2 separate regions of the Homo sapiens genome follow, and region 1 is linked to region 2. Evidence: promoter capture Hi-C in 16 types of primary human blood cells and fetal thymus (Javierre and others, 2016). All regions are on one chromosome and are shown on one strand. Each heading gives the region's core, a stretch centred on a gene start or on the middle of the fragment in contact. The rest is flanking DNA. Distances are from core to core; before and after follow the strand shown.

Evidence for each region. Contacts are between HindIII fragments. The CHiCAGO score rates a contact against its expected background, and 5 or more counts as called.
Region 1: a contact is called between a fragment that was not itself captured here and the fragment with the promoter of PARM1 in region 2, in 1 of 17 cell types (M0 macrophages). The highest score is 5.4, in M0 macrophages.

Annotation. Positions count from the first base shown.
Region 1 is chr4:75,177,038-75,183,080 of GRCh38, forward strand. It overlaps LOC100506253 (a long non-coding RNA gene), which reads right to left and starts at 4,259. Exons shown (of 3, transcript XR_109812.5): 1 at 3,767-4,259; 2 at 3,374-3,428; 3 at 1-1,853. RefSeq lists an enhancer at 4,010-4,510. The HindIII fragment of the contact is 6,697 bases long and covers 1-5,748 here.
Region 2 is chr4:74,929,852-74,935,673 of GRCh38, forward strand. PARM1 (prostate androgen-regulated mucin-like protein 1) reads left to right here and starts at 3,265. Exons shown (of 4, transcript NM_015393.4): 1 at 3,265-3,519. The coding sequence starts at 3,477. RefSeq lists silencers at 3,099-3,408, 3,989-4,038 and an enhancer at 4,149-4,198. The HindIII fragment of the contact is 7,366 bases long and covers 2,334-5,822 here.

The sequences.
Region 1 (6,043 bases), core at 1,150-3,649, 250 kb after region 2:
TTGTCCAGGGATAAATCCAGAATCACAAGTTACATTTGGTTGTCATGTCTGTTTGTTCTTCTTTAATCTGAAACAGTTCATTCTTTCTTTTATTTCATGATCTCAGTATTTGAATAATTCAAACTAGTTATTGTGTAGACAAACCTTTGATTTGGGTTAGTCTGATTACCCCTTCATGATTAGATTCAGATTATGCATTTTTGACAGAAATATCATAGAAATGTTGTTATGTCCTTCTCAGGAAGCACATGATGTCTATGTGTCCCATTATTGGTGATGTGAACTTTGATCATATAGTCGAGGTGATTTCTATCAGGTTTATCCAATGTAAAGAAAGTTTTTTCTTTGAAATTAATAAATATGTTGTAGAGATATACTTTGAGACAATGTATATTAAGTATCCTGGTTTTCATCATACTCTGATTTTCGAATCTGTTTATTTTTACCTGAAACAATTATTACTATAGGGACTGCCAAATGGTGATTTTCCAAGTCCATCATTTTCTCTATCTTTATTCTTTGGGATTCTACTATAAGGAAAAGAGTTCACTTCTCCATCATTTATTTCCTCATTTATTTACTTACATTAGTATGGACTTACAGATTTTTATTTTGTTATCTGGGTTATATTCCATTATCATCAATAGTCATGATGATACTCAGATTATCTCAAATGTAGGTAATGGAAGCCTCTTTAAGCAAGCTCCTGGGTCCTTTGCAACATGTCCCCTTTATTCTTTGATCACTTTCTTGCTTTGTGGCACAGAAATGTTCCAAGTTCACTTTGTACTTTTCACGCCCTGGACCTGGAATCAGCCACTTGTGCAAGGAGACCCAGATTCTTTTAGTGGAGAATGAGATTTAGAAGCCCAGATCTAGGTCCTAGGTATGCTCATTGCTACTGAAGTATTCTTTGAAACCTTTCAAGCATTCCTAATGACAGCTATTTTAGCTGACAGATGACTTTGGAACATCTATGAGTTAATCACCCAACAGTCTCACAACCACAATCTCTACCTATGTATTACAATAACTAGGTCTCCTTCACCCCAACTTGTCCAATTGGTATACTCGAGGGCTGTTTTCAGTCATTTGGGCTTCCTAAGGATCACTTTCTCCTGGGTTGTGTTATTAATCTCCATCCAAAAGGCGAGATAGATAAGAGAGCATTCCCATCTCCTACCTACCTCTCCCATTTTGCCAAATTAGAAGATATAGGTCCCTTTCTGCCTTGAAAATTTTCTCAATCCTTCCTCCTCTCTCTCATCCCTTTTTTCACACAAATGTCTCTCACCTACATTTTATCCTGGTATTTCTTAGAAGTGACTCTGCACAGAGCTTGCTTCTCAGGGTCTCTTTATAGACTCTGGCATTTGTGGCTGGGGAGAAAAAGGAAGTAGTATAGACATCACCTTTCTCCTTTCTCTGCTTCTCTGCCACAAAAACTCATCAAACATATCCCAGGGAACTTAGAAAATAGAGAGAAATCCATCAGACCCTGAAGATTGTGAGGTTTAAGCCTTGAGACCAGTAGAATCTCATACAAGACAACAAGTAATAGTCAAAGAAAACAAGGTAAAATCGACCATATAAAAGAAAACAAAATATAATTTTTTAAGATGACTTAAAATGTATTAGACTAAAAATAATGGGGCTCCCACACAGAGAATATATTTAGGTTTAGGGTTGCATGATGTGCAGAGATCACATCAAGGAGTTCAATTTTCCATCCACAGTTCAGAGGTTAGGCTTTAGACCGTCATGGCGGAAGTCTTCAGGGAATCATTTTGAAGATAGGGAAGCAGGAACTATAGTGAAAGGATTTTTATGTAACCATGATGTATCCCACACACCTGGAAGTAGAAAAAGCAAGGAAAAATTACAAGAAGTAGTATACGAGAGTTAACTTGGGTAGTATTGAATATCTCATTAGTAAAACACTTCTCTCTATGTGTATAGATAAGTTTCCCAGTGTATATACATACTTATTTATTTTCTCCACTGAAAGGCATTTCACTATAGAGAGATAACAGAAAGAAATATACAGTTGGCTCTTGAACAACATAGAGGTTAGGGTCACTGACCCCCTGTGCAGTCAAAAATGTGTATATAATTTTGACTCCCCCAAAACTTAACTACTAATAGATTACTGTTGACTGGAAGGCTTACCGATAATATAAACAGTTGATTAACATATATTTTGTATGTTATATATACTACCTACTGTATTTTTACAATAAAGTAAGATAGGAAAAACAAAACATTATTAAGAAAATCATAAGGATGTGAAAATAAATTTGCAGTAGTGGATTGTATTTATCAATACTGTAAGTTTATGTCGTCTGTTTACAAGATGAATTGCCTATCTGAAATGGTGGGCAACTGCACCTGACATCCTCAAGCTATGGGACTTATCAAGCAACTGAGCTTTTGCTTGTAATGTCATAACTTTTCTCTGCTTCTTGGAAGCACTTCCAGCATCACTAGTCACACTTCATGTGAGTCCCATGGTGTTATTCAAGGTGTATTATATTGTACTAAACATGATGAAAAATAAACAAGAAACTTGAGAGACAGCTTTTTACTGTGATACACAATTTACTGGAGAGACAAACTGCTTACAAAGAGATGATTAGCATTAGGTGGCATTTTAAGTGGATACTTGTAACACTTGAGCTCACCACAATAGCAACAAGAGGTGGCTATAAAACTATTACAGTAGTATAGTATGCACTACAGTTAATTTTATGAAGTTATGATTTAACACTACATCTTTTTATTTGTTTACATTTCTCTCAAGTACAAATGGCACCATATACAGTCTGTGTTTGTGTATGTAAGTTTTGATAAATGTTAACTTTTAATGATAGATTAGTGTATATTATGGTAGTAAGTGATAAAATAGACTACTGTCTACATATATTTTATGCATTTATGACATACTTTTTCTTGATTTTTTCTATATTGCTATGCTTTGCAGTTTGTTTGTTTTTTTTAATTGTCAAAATCTCCAAAAAATTTTTCAATGCGTTTATGGAAAAAGAATCCACTTATAAGTGGACCTATGAAGTTCAAACCTGTGTTGCTCAAGGGTCAACTATATATATTGCAATTTTAGGTTGAAAAATATATTTTATCATTTACATTTATTTTATTTTATCAAAGATATATCTTTTATTTTATAAAATATATATTTTATTTTATCATTTACATATAAATATATATATTATCATTATTTATATATTTTTTACATATATTATCATTTATATGTAATAATAACTTAAGAAATAAGCCTATATCCTCCAAGAGATTTACAGTACTTAATTGTTGTCCAGACCTGAGTTCAACCCAGTCAATGTTCTATGTGACTCACCTTCAGAAATCTCATGTTCTGTGGACTTGTTGCCCAGGTTGAAATCCCTGCCTTCCTGCAAAGATAGAAGAGAAGTGGGAAATATAATACATTTTCTCTTCTTTCCTGGAGCCATAACTCTCCCTAGACCATGGAGAGAAAATTTCATGTCCTCTATTCAAAGATGAGAAAAATTCTAGAGTTACCCTTACACATTCAAAAATCAAGAAGAACAGGAAAGCTGAGATAACCCACAGACTCTTTGAAGGAAGCAGATTGCTCCTGCAGGGCGCCTGGAGACAGCCAAAAAACTGTGAGTGCCCAATGTGTGAAAGGGGGATTGTCTGCCCCCAAACACACACTCTCACTGGGGAACCTGAAGTTCCAGATCACGGGTAAAGGATTTGATCTTACCTGGAGCTGAGACAAATTTAGAGAGCTGAGTGAAATACAGGGGTAGAAGAAGCAGTAGGAAGACCCCTGTGGGCTCTCGGTCCCCAAGGAAGTAACTTCCGACTTTGTCTTACAGAAGTCCTTGGGGAGGGCTGCCAGAGGAACCGGGAAGAAACCACACAGGGAAGGAAACTTCCAGCTGAACTTTGTAACAATTTCGACCGAATGCAAAGTTTCCCCGACAGAAATCAGGGGAGGGGTTGAATCAGGAGTGCAATCACAGCACAGAAGCCATGGTAGGTGGGGAGAGGTGAAATCTAAAAGCCCTGCTTGCTTTCTCAGCTGGGAGGCTGGTAGCCTGGGGCAGCTTTTCAGCCCTGCTCACCCACTGCCTGGAAATAAACTTGGTGCTGTTGAGGGAGCACAGTGAAAGTGAAACCAGCCTTTTGGGCTGAGTGAGGCCTATAACTGCCAGCTTTCACCCATTTCCCTGGTGGCCTGCATGACACAGCAGAGGCAGCCATAATCCCCCGGGGGCAGAATTCCACTGGCCTGAGAACCACACCCCCCCTCCCCCGCAGTAACTGCAGTAAGACCCGCCCAAGGAGAGTCTGAAATTAGACATGCTTAACCCTGCCCCCACCTGATGGTCTTTATCTACCTGCCCTGATAGCCCAAGAAAAAGGACTTAACCTCTTGGGAGCTCTAGGGCCCCACCTACCACCTGATGCTCCCTCTACTACCTCAGCTAATGCCCTCTTGAAAGTGCCACCTCCTGACTGGAGGCCAACCAACACAAAACTACTGCAATAAACAAAACTACAACTAAGAACGCTCACAGACTCTGTTTCACTCCTCTGCCACCTCCACCAGAGCAGGTGCTGGTGTCTACAGCTGTGAGACTTAAAGATGGTTCACATCACAGGACTCTGTGTAGACAATCCTAGTACCAGGCCAGAGCCTGGCAACTCTGCTGGGTGGCTAGATCCAGAAGAGAAATAACAATCATTCCAGTTTGGCTCTCAGGAAGCCACATCCCCAGGGAAAGGAGGAGAGCACTACATCAAAAGAGCACCCCATGGGACAGAAGAATCTGAACAGCATCCCTTGAGCCCCAAATATTTCCTCTGACACAGCCTACCCAAATGAGAAGTAACCAGAAAAACAATTCTGGTAATATGACAAAACAAGGTTCTTTAACACCCCCAAAAGATCACCAGCAATAGATCCAAACCAAGATGAAATCCCTGAATTGCCAGAAAAAGAATTCAGACGGTCAATTATTAAGCTAATCAAGGAGGAATCAGAGAAAGGTGAAGTCCAACTTAATGAAATCAAAACAGTAATACAAGATATGAAGGGAAAAATCATCAGTGTAATAGATAGCATAAATAAAAAGCAATCACAACATCTAGAAGTAAAGGACACACTTAGAGAAATGTAAAATGCACTGGAAACTCTCAGCAATAGAATCAAACAAGCAGAAGAAAGAATGTCAGAGCTCAAAGACAAGGTTTTTAAATTAACCTAATCCAACAAAGAAAAAAAACAAAAAAAATTAAAAAATGAACAAAGCCTCCAAGAAGTTTGGGGTTATGTTAAATGACCAAACCTGAGAATACTGGGTGTTCCCATGGAAAAAGAGAAATGTAAAAGTTTGGAAAACATATTTGAGGGAATAATCAAGGAAAACTTCCATGACCTTGTTAGAGATCCAGACATCCAAGTACAAGAAGCTCAAAGAAAATCTGGGAAATTTATCACAAAAATATCATCACCTAGGCATAGTCATCAGGTTATCTAAAGTCAAGACAAAGGAAAGAATCTTAACAGCCATGAGTTAAAAGCACTAATTAGATAACCTATAAAGGAAAACCTATCAGGTTAGCAGCAGATTTCTCAGCAGAAACCTTACAAGCTAAAAGGGATTGAGTCCCTATCTTCAGCCTCCTAAACAGAACAATTATCAGCTGCATACAAGAATTCTGTATGCAGTGAAACTAAGCTTCATTTATGAAGAAAATATACTCTTATTTAGATAAACAAATGCTGAGAGAATTAACCACTACAAGCTAGAACTACAAGAACTGATCAAAGGAGCTCTAAATCTTGAAACAAATTCTCAAAATACACCAAAATAGAACCTCCTCAAAGTGTAAATCTCACAGAACCTACAAAAAAAAAACAATAAAAATTAAAGAAAAAAACACAAGATATTCAGGCAACAAATAGCATGATGAATAGAATAGTACCTCACATCCCAATACTAATGTTGAATGTAAATGTCCTAAATGTTCC
Region 2 (5,822 bases), core at 2,015-4,514:
TATAGCTGCTGTTTCTCAAACAAATGCTTATACTGAAAAGGCATATTCTGAAGTGGCACATTCTGGTCTTCTACAGTATCTATCTCACAAAGTTAGAGTGTAGAAATGTAAACACATGACTGTACATAAAATGCTTGAAACAATTAATAAATTTTCATCATTATTATTATTGTAGCATTTAATATAATGTTATTGCATATGTCTTTGTGATTATTCATTCAATGTTTAACTCCCCACTACTAGAAAATAAGTTTCCTGGTGCAGGGACAATTAGCCCCTGTGGCACATATCACAATGTTCCCTGCTATAGAGTTCTCGTCTCTATCTGAGCACGCAAAAATAACATGCTTTCTTGCTTTCTTGAAGTTGGGCATGGCCATTGACTTGCCTTAGCCCATAAAATATGAACAGAATTGTCACTTTTAGGTGGAAGATTTAAATACTTAATTCTCCACTTCTCTCTTTCCCTAACTCAGTGGATGTGAAACTGTTAGAGGTGGATGTGAAACTGTTAGAGGTGGAAGTTATTTGAGTCACCGGCAGAGACTGCAGCAACCTCAATTCTTGCCTCGGAAGGAAGAATATAATTGAGGGGCATAAGGCAGAATAAGAGACTGAGGCAAGTTTCAGAGCAAGAGTGGAAGTTAATTAAAAAGCTTTAGAGCAGCAAGAAAGGAAAGCACAGTTGGAAGAGGCCTAAGAGGGCATCTTGGACGTCAAGTGCCCCATTTGACCTTGCACTTAGGGTTTTACATGCTGGTCTACTTCTGGCGTCTTGCATTGCTTTAATGCCCCCAGAAGGTCATATACCAGTTAAACTCCACCATTTTGCATCTTAATGCACATGCTTGAGTTCAGTCACCCACCTCCTGAGATCTTATTGGAAGCTGCTGATTACCAGTTTCATGTGTTCCCTATTTATGGGGAGATGGTCAGTCCCTCGTGCCAGCTGTAACCAATTATTATTTTAGAGAGACAGTTAATAACTGCCTGGCCATCACATGATGGTTACCTGACTTTCCTGGTGGGGTGTGGGGGGAGCCCTCTGCTGCCCCACTCATGCCTATCTAGCTACCTACTGTAACAAAAGCAGGTTTCGATATGGCGGTACAACACTGATCCTGAGGACAGCTACTCTGAGGAGTAACCTGGATCCATAGCAGACTTTGATGAGCAAAAAATAAACCATTATCGCTTAAGCTTGGGAGACTTTGGGCTGGTTTGTTACAGCAGCATAACCTACACTACCCTGGCTATTACAACCATTGTATTTCCATTGCCTAGCATAAGGGCTGGCGTAAAATAAGTGATTAAATATGCTCTGACTAAATTAATTAATAAATTAAAATTTTTAATCAGCAATTAAAATGAACTATTTTAATCAAAGAAATTATTTCAACTCTATCCTGCGTACAATAGAAAAGTTTTGGAAATTTTCACTGATTAGTGTGTAGGGGTCATGATTCTTTGAGTACCAAACCATTATCTTAGATATCAAGGTTAGAGTTGCACATGCTTCGCACTCCAGAAAGACTCCTTCAAGTTTTGCTGAATTTCAATTGAATAAATTTTTTCTGTGAAGTGGTCTTCAAAAACCTATATTTCTGCCATAGAGTCACTTACTTAACCTGCCCTATTTAAAGGGGCTAATGCCTGATAGAATGTCGCTGCATAACTCCATCTGTGTGTGGTCCCTGCATCCATGACAACCAAAACCCAGATGCAGAAATTGTTCCTAATCACATAGATTACCCTAGAAACCGGAAGGGCCTTGAAGTCAAAAGCATTCAGAGAACATGCTGAACAAATTGAATTTGCAGTTTATCTGGCCAGGGAGGATGGAGAGGGGATGGGCACTTGGTCTGAGTATTTTTTGTTTCTCATTCCAACAGAAATTACTAGATTTACCAAAACAAAGAGAAAAAAATATGATCCAAATTTAATCTGGTTGTGGAAGTGTGAGCAAAATCTACAAGTGGTAGTGTGATAGAGTCAGGCAGAGGAATTGACCATAGATAAGGTGCTCAGGACTCCTAGAGTCAGCTTCTGGTATGTGAGAAAGAAGTGAGAACAGAGCCCATGGCATATGAAGAAGATATTACAGAAAAAAGAAAGCTGCCTTCCACGCAAATCATTTCTTTACAAAGGCTTGTTAACTCCTGCAGTGCCCCAGCTCTAGTGACTAGGGGACCAATAGGTTCATTAATAACAGAATTGGGAGAGAACCTGGCATCTGCTTTGATCGAAGTGTGAGAATTAAGCAAGCCTAAAGTGTAGCAAGAGCAGGGAGGGAACTGAATGAAAGGTCAGTTCTAATCTGTAGGCTTTGGAGAAGCTTTGGGCTCTTGAGAGGGAGTAGAGTACAGAGGCTGAGCGGGGTGCCTGGGCAGGCATCTTATCATTACTTGCGAGTTGTGTGAACTCGGGCAAGTTAAACTTCTCTGTGCTTCTACTTTCTCCCCTGAAAACGAGGATATAATCTCCAAGGATTGTTGTGAGAACTAAATGACTTGGTTGATTCCTGAACAGCACGTTGTCCAGTGCCTAGCACATAGCAATCACTCAGGAAACGTCAGCCTTTATTATGGGCCTAGTGCACAAACTATTCTTACCAGTTATGCGACCTTGAGAACATTGTCTTCTCTGTGCCTTCATTTTCTCACCTGTAAAATGGAATAATAATAATTCTTAGAAGGATTCATGAAACAACGCCTAGTAGGGTGTCTGGCTTAGTTATCCCCCCGACAGTATTTTCTTCTAGTAAGAAGCTGAATGCAGCGGCAGACATCCTGGTTCGGGCCCCAGGAAGCTCAGCCGGGTTTAATGTGGATGAGGGTTTAATGATGTACACGCAGAAGTGTTTTGACAAATGAAGAAGGTCCTCATTCTTGGAACATGTGCCGGTTCTCCGAGGGAACTCCTAAAATGGCATAAGGTCACCTTTTTAAAGGCTGTAAGCTCATGTAGGAAAAGCTGAGCTAGATTCCTAAGGGCAGAGATGTGCTCACATTTCTTTGCATCCCTAGTTCCCAGCACAGTGCAAGGCGCTGCAAACATTTGCTGAACCCAGGGTCTCGTGTCTTGACTGTCCAGCAGAGGCCGCTCTGGGCCGGGGCTCTCGGGACCTGAGGGCTGAGAGAAGGAAGGCCAGGGGGTGGCCCAGTCATCGCCGCGGGGCCCGGGTGGGAGGGGTTTGGCAGCGGCAGGCGCGGCGGCGGCGGCGGAGGCGGAGGCGGCCCCGGGCTCGGGCGGCTGGGATGGAGCAGAAGAGCGCGGAGCACCGGAGGGCACGCAGCTGACGGAGCTGCGCTGCGTTCGCCTCGTTTGCCTCGCGCCCTCCACTGGAGCTGTTCGCGCCTCCCGGCTCCCACCGCAGCCCACCCGGCAGAGGAGTCGCTACCAGCGCCCAGTGCGCTCTGTCAGTCCGCAAACTCCTTGCCGCCCGCCCCGGGCTGGGCACCAAATACCAGGCTACCATGGTCTACAAGACTCTCTTCGCTCTTTGCATCTTAACTGCAGGTAATTGGCGCCATCCTCCCGGAAGGGCAGGTCGCGGGGTGGGCCCCAGTAGCTAGCGCGTGGTCGGGGCTGAAGCTAGGAGATCCGGCAGTGAGTCGCCGCGCGCCTCCGGGTGAGTGCGCAGGTGTGTGCGCACTTAGATTTGGGGTGACGTGCACCTTTGGCGGTCCCGAACCGTACTGAGGGAGGGGACGATGGGGTCCTTCCTGCCGCAGCCCGCGCCCGCACAAACTCCAGCTTTGTAGAACAGGTGGCTGTCTTAGCTGCGTGTTCGAACCCAGAGTGGGCAACACGGACTGCGCCTCAAGGCTTCTCTTTCTTCACCAGGGTTTCGGAGCGCACTCTGCCAAAGTACGGGACCAGACTTCTTGTTGCCGTTGGGCCCTGGAAGGGATGAAAAAGCCGGGGAAGTGGGGGTGGGAGGTTCGCATCTGGGAAGGCTTCAGCAGCGGCTGCGCGCCTGGCGGGGCTGGTTTGCTTTCTCGAGTCTTGGCGGTCTCTGATCTCCGGCGTCCCTTCCTAGTTATGCTTAGGATGATGTGGCACTAACAGCAGCGGCCCGGCCTTGGTCAGGCTCGCAATCGTCACTGGGGGTAGCAAGGCTACCTTCTGCCCCAGAACTCCCCAAAAACGTATCCCATAGAAGAAACTATTAACTTGGCTAAACTAGCATCCTCTCCCCTCCCCCTGCACCACCTCTGAAAGGCTTCGTAGGAGCCACTCTCGGGTTTCGGGACCACAGACGGCGACGACCTCTGGCAGCGGGGATGGGGAAGAGGGGAGCCAGATGACTGAGCTCGGCTTGGCGGGGACCGGGGAGAGATTCAGAAAGACGCTTTGAATCTAGAGTTCAGGTACCTATTTTTTCCAGAAAACGTCTCCCGAAAAGGGACAACTGGCTGTGGATATGGTGCTGCTGGGAAAAGTAGCCCGACTGCGCGGCCACTGGCATTTTCAGTTTAAATGTGACCCAAAGTCACATAGCGCAAACCGATTCTACTCGTGCTTTAGTCTGTATATCCTCCCTCTGAGTTCGTCGGGTTCCTACAGTTGTGGACACGAGTCGTCGCAATCCCTTGAAAAGAAGCTAGCGGTTTTCAGGCAGCTCACAGTGGGTAATGCAGTTATAAGGAAAAGTTTCCCAACTTGAAACTATAGCGTATTTTCTCTACTTAGTGAACGTCCGTCTGAGAAAACCTCTTTCTCGCTGGTATCTCGGCACGGTTTGGAGACGCGTCCGCGGACAGTTCCCGAATACTCGCAGGCGGCTTTGGCTGCCCAGCCTCGGGCTGAGATGAGAGAGCCTAGGTCCGGCAGGTGCAATAGGCAGCGGAGCTCCCGGCTGGCTGCGGGTGGTAATTCCTGTAATCCTCAAAGCAGGAGATGCTTACGTAATGACACGGAAGGTACCTTTACTTCTCCTCACTCAAAAATCTTTTCTTGAGGTTCAGAAACCCTTGAGTGAGTCAGTAGAGAGGTTCGTTTGCAAATTTGATTTAGTGGCTTGTCTTGTTTATTTAATCATTTCCTTTTTTAAACAGCTCTGGCAGTTGTCAAAACCGGGATTAACCCTAACAAACAGTGTATTGTAGCTTCCCCACCCCCACCCCAAGAAGCTCTTTTTTCTTTTTTTTTTTTTTCTTTTTTCTTTTATTCAGCGTTACAGTTTAGCTCCGCTATTCCGGGAGGAATATCACCCTTGACCCACCGCTAGAGCGAGGAGACTGGTGGGCCAGGGACCGGCTGAGCACCACTCCTACCCCCACGCACTAATTAGGATCAGAGCCCAGATGGTCACAGCCTTCCAGCTGTGAGGCTCGAGACTCAGGAAGACATACTGCCTCATTTCCCTAGTTATGCTTCGATATGCATATCCCAAGCTGAAAATGATGAAGCTAATGGACACTGCATTCCCCCTGAAGTTTGTGCCTTTGAAGGAATCTCTTTAAGACGTCAGTTTGTTGTTAGAGCTACTTTGCAATAAATCGTCCGAAAAAATAATATAAAAATTGGCATAAATACCTCATGAGATTCTTTGCACCTTAATTTTAAGGTGTTTTCAGAATGTAAAATATCATTTTTAAAGAAAAAAATAGACGTGTTGGTAAAGAAGAAAGGGATGAGGGCTCTTGAAGTGAAAGTGCACACACATGTGTTTTGGGGGCTTATCCCAGAACTCCCCTAGCAAATCTCTAGTTAGTTTCACCAGGCCTTGTGTCTTTTCTGTTTCCTTCTCATTTTCCTCCTCTAGCCATAGGCTTCAACAATATTTCTGTAAAATTCTTAAGGTGATACTTTCTTGA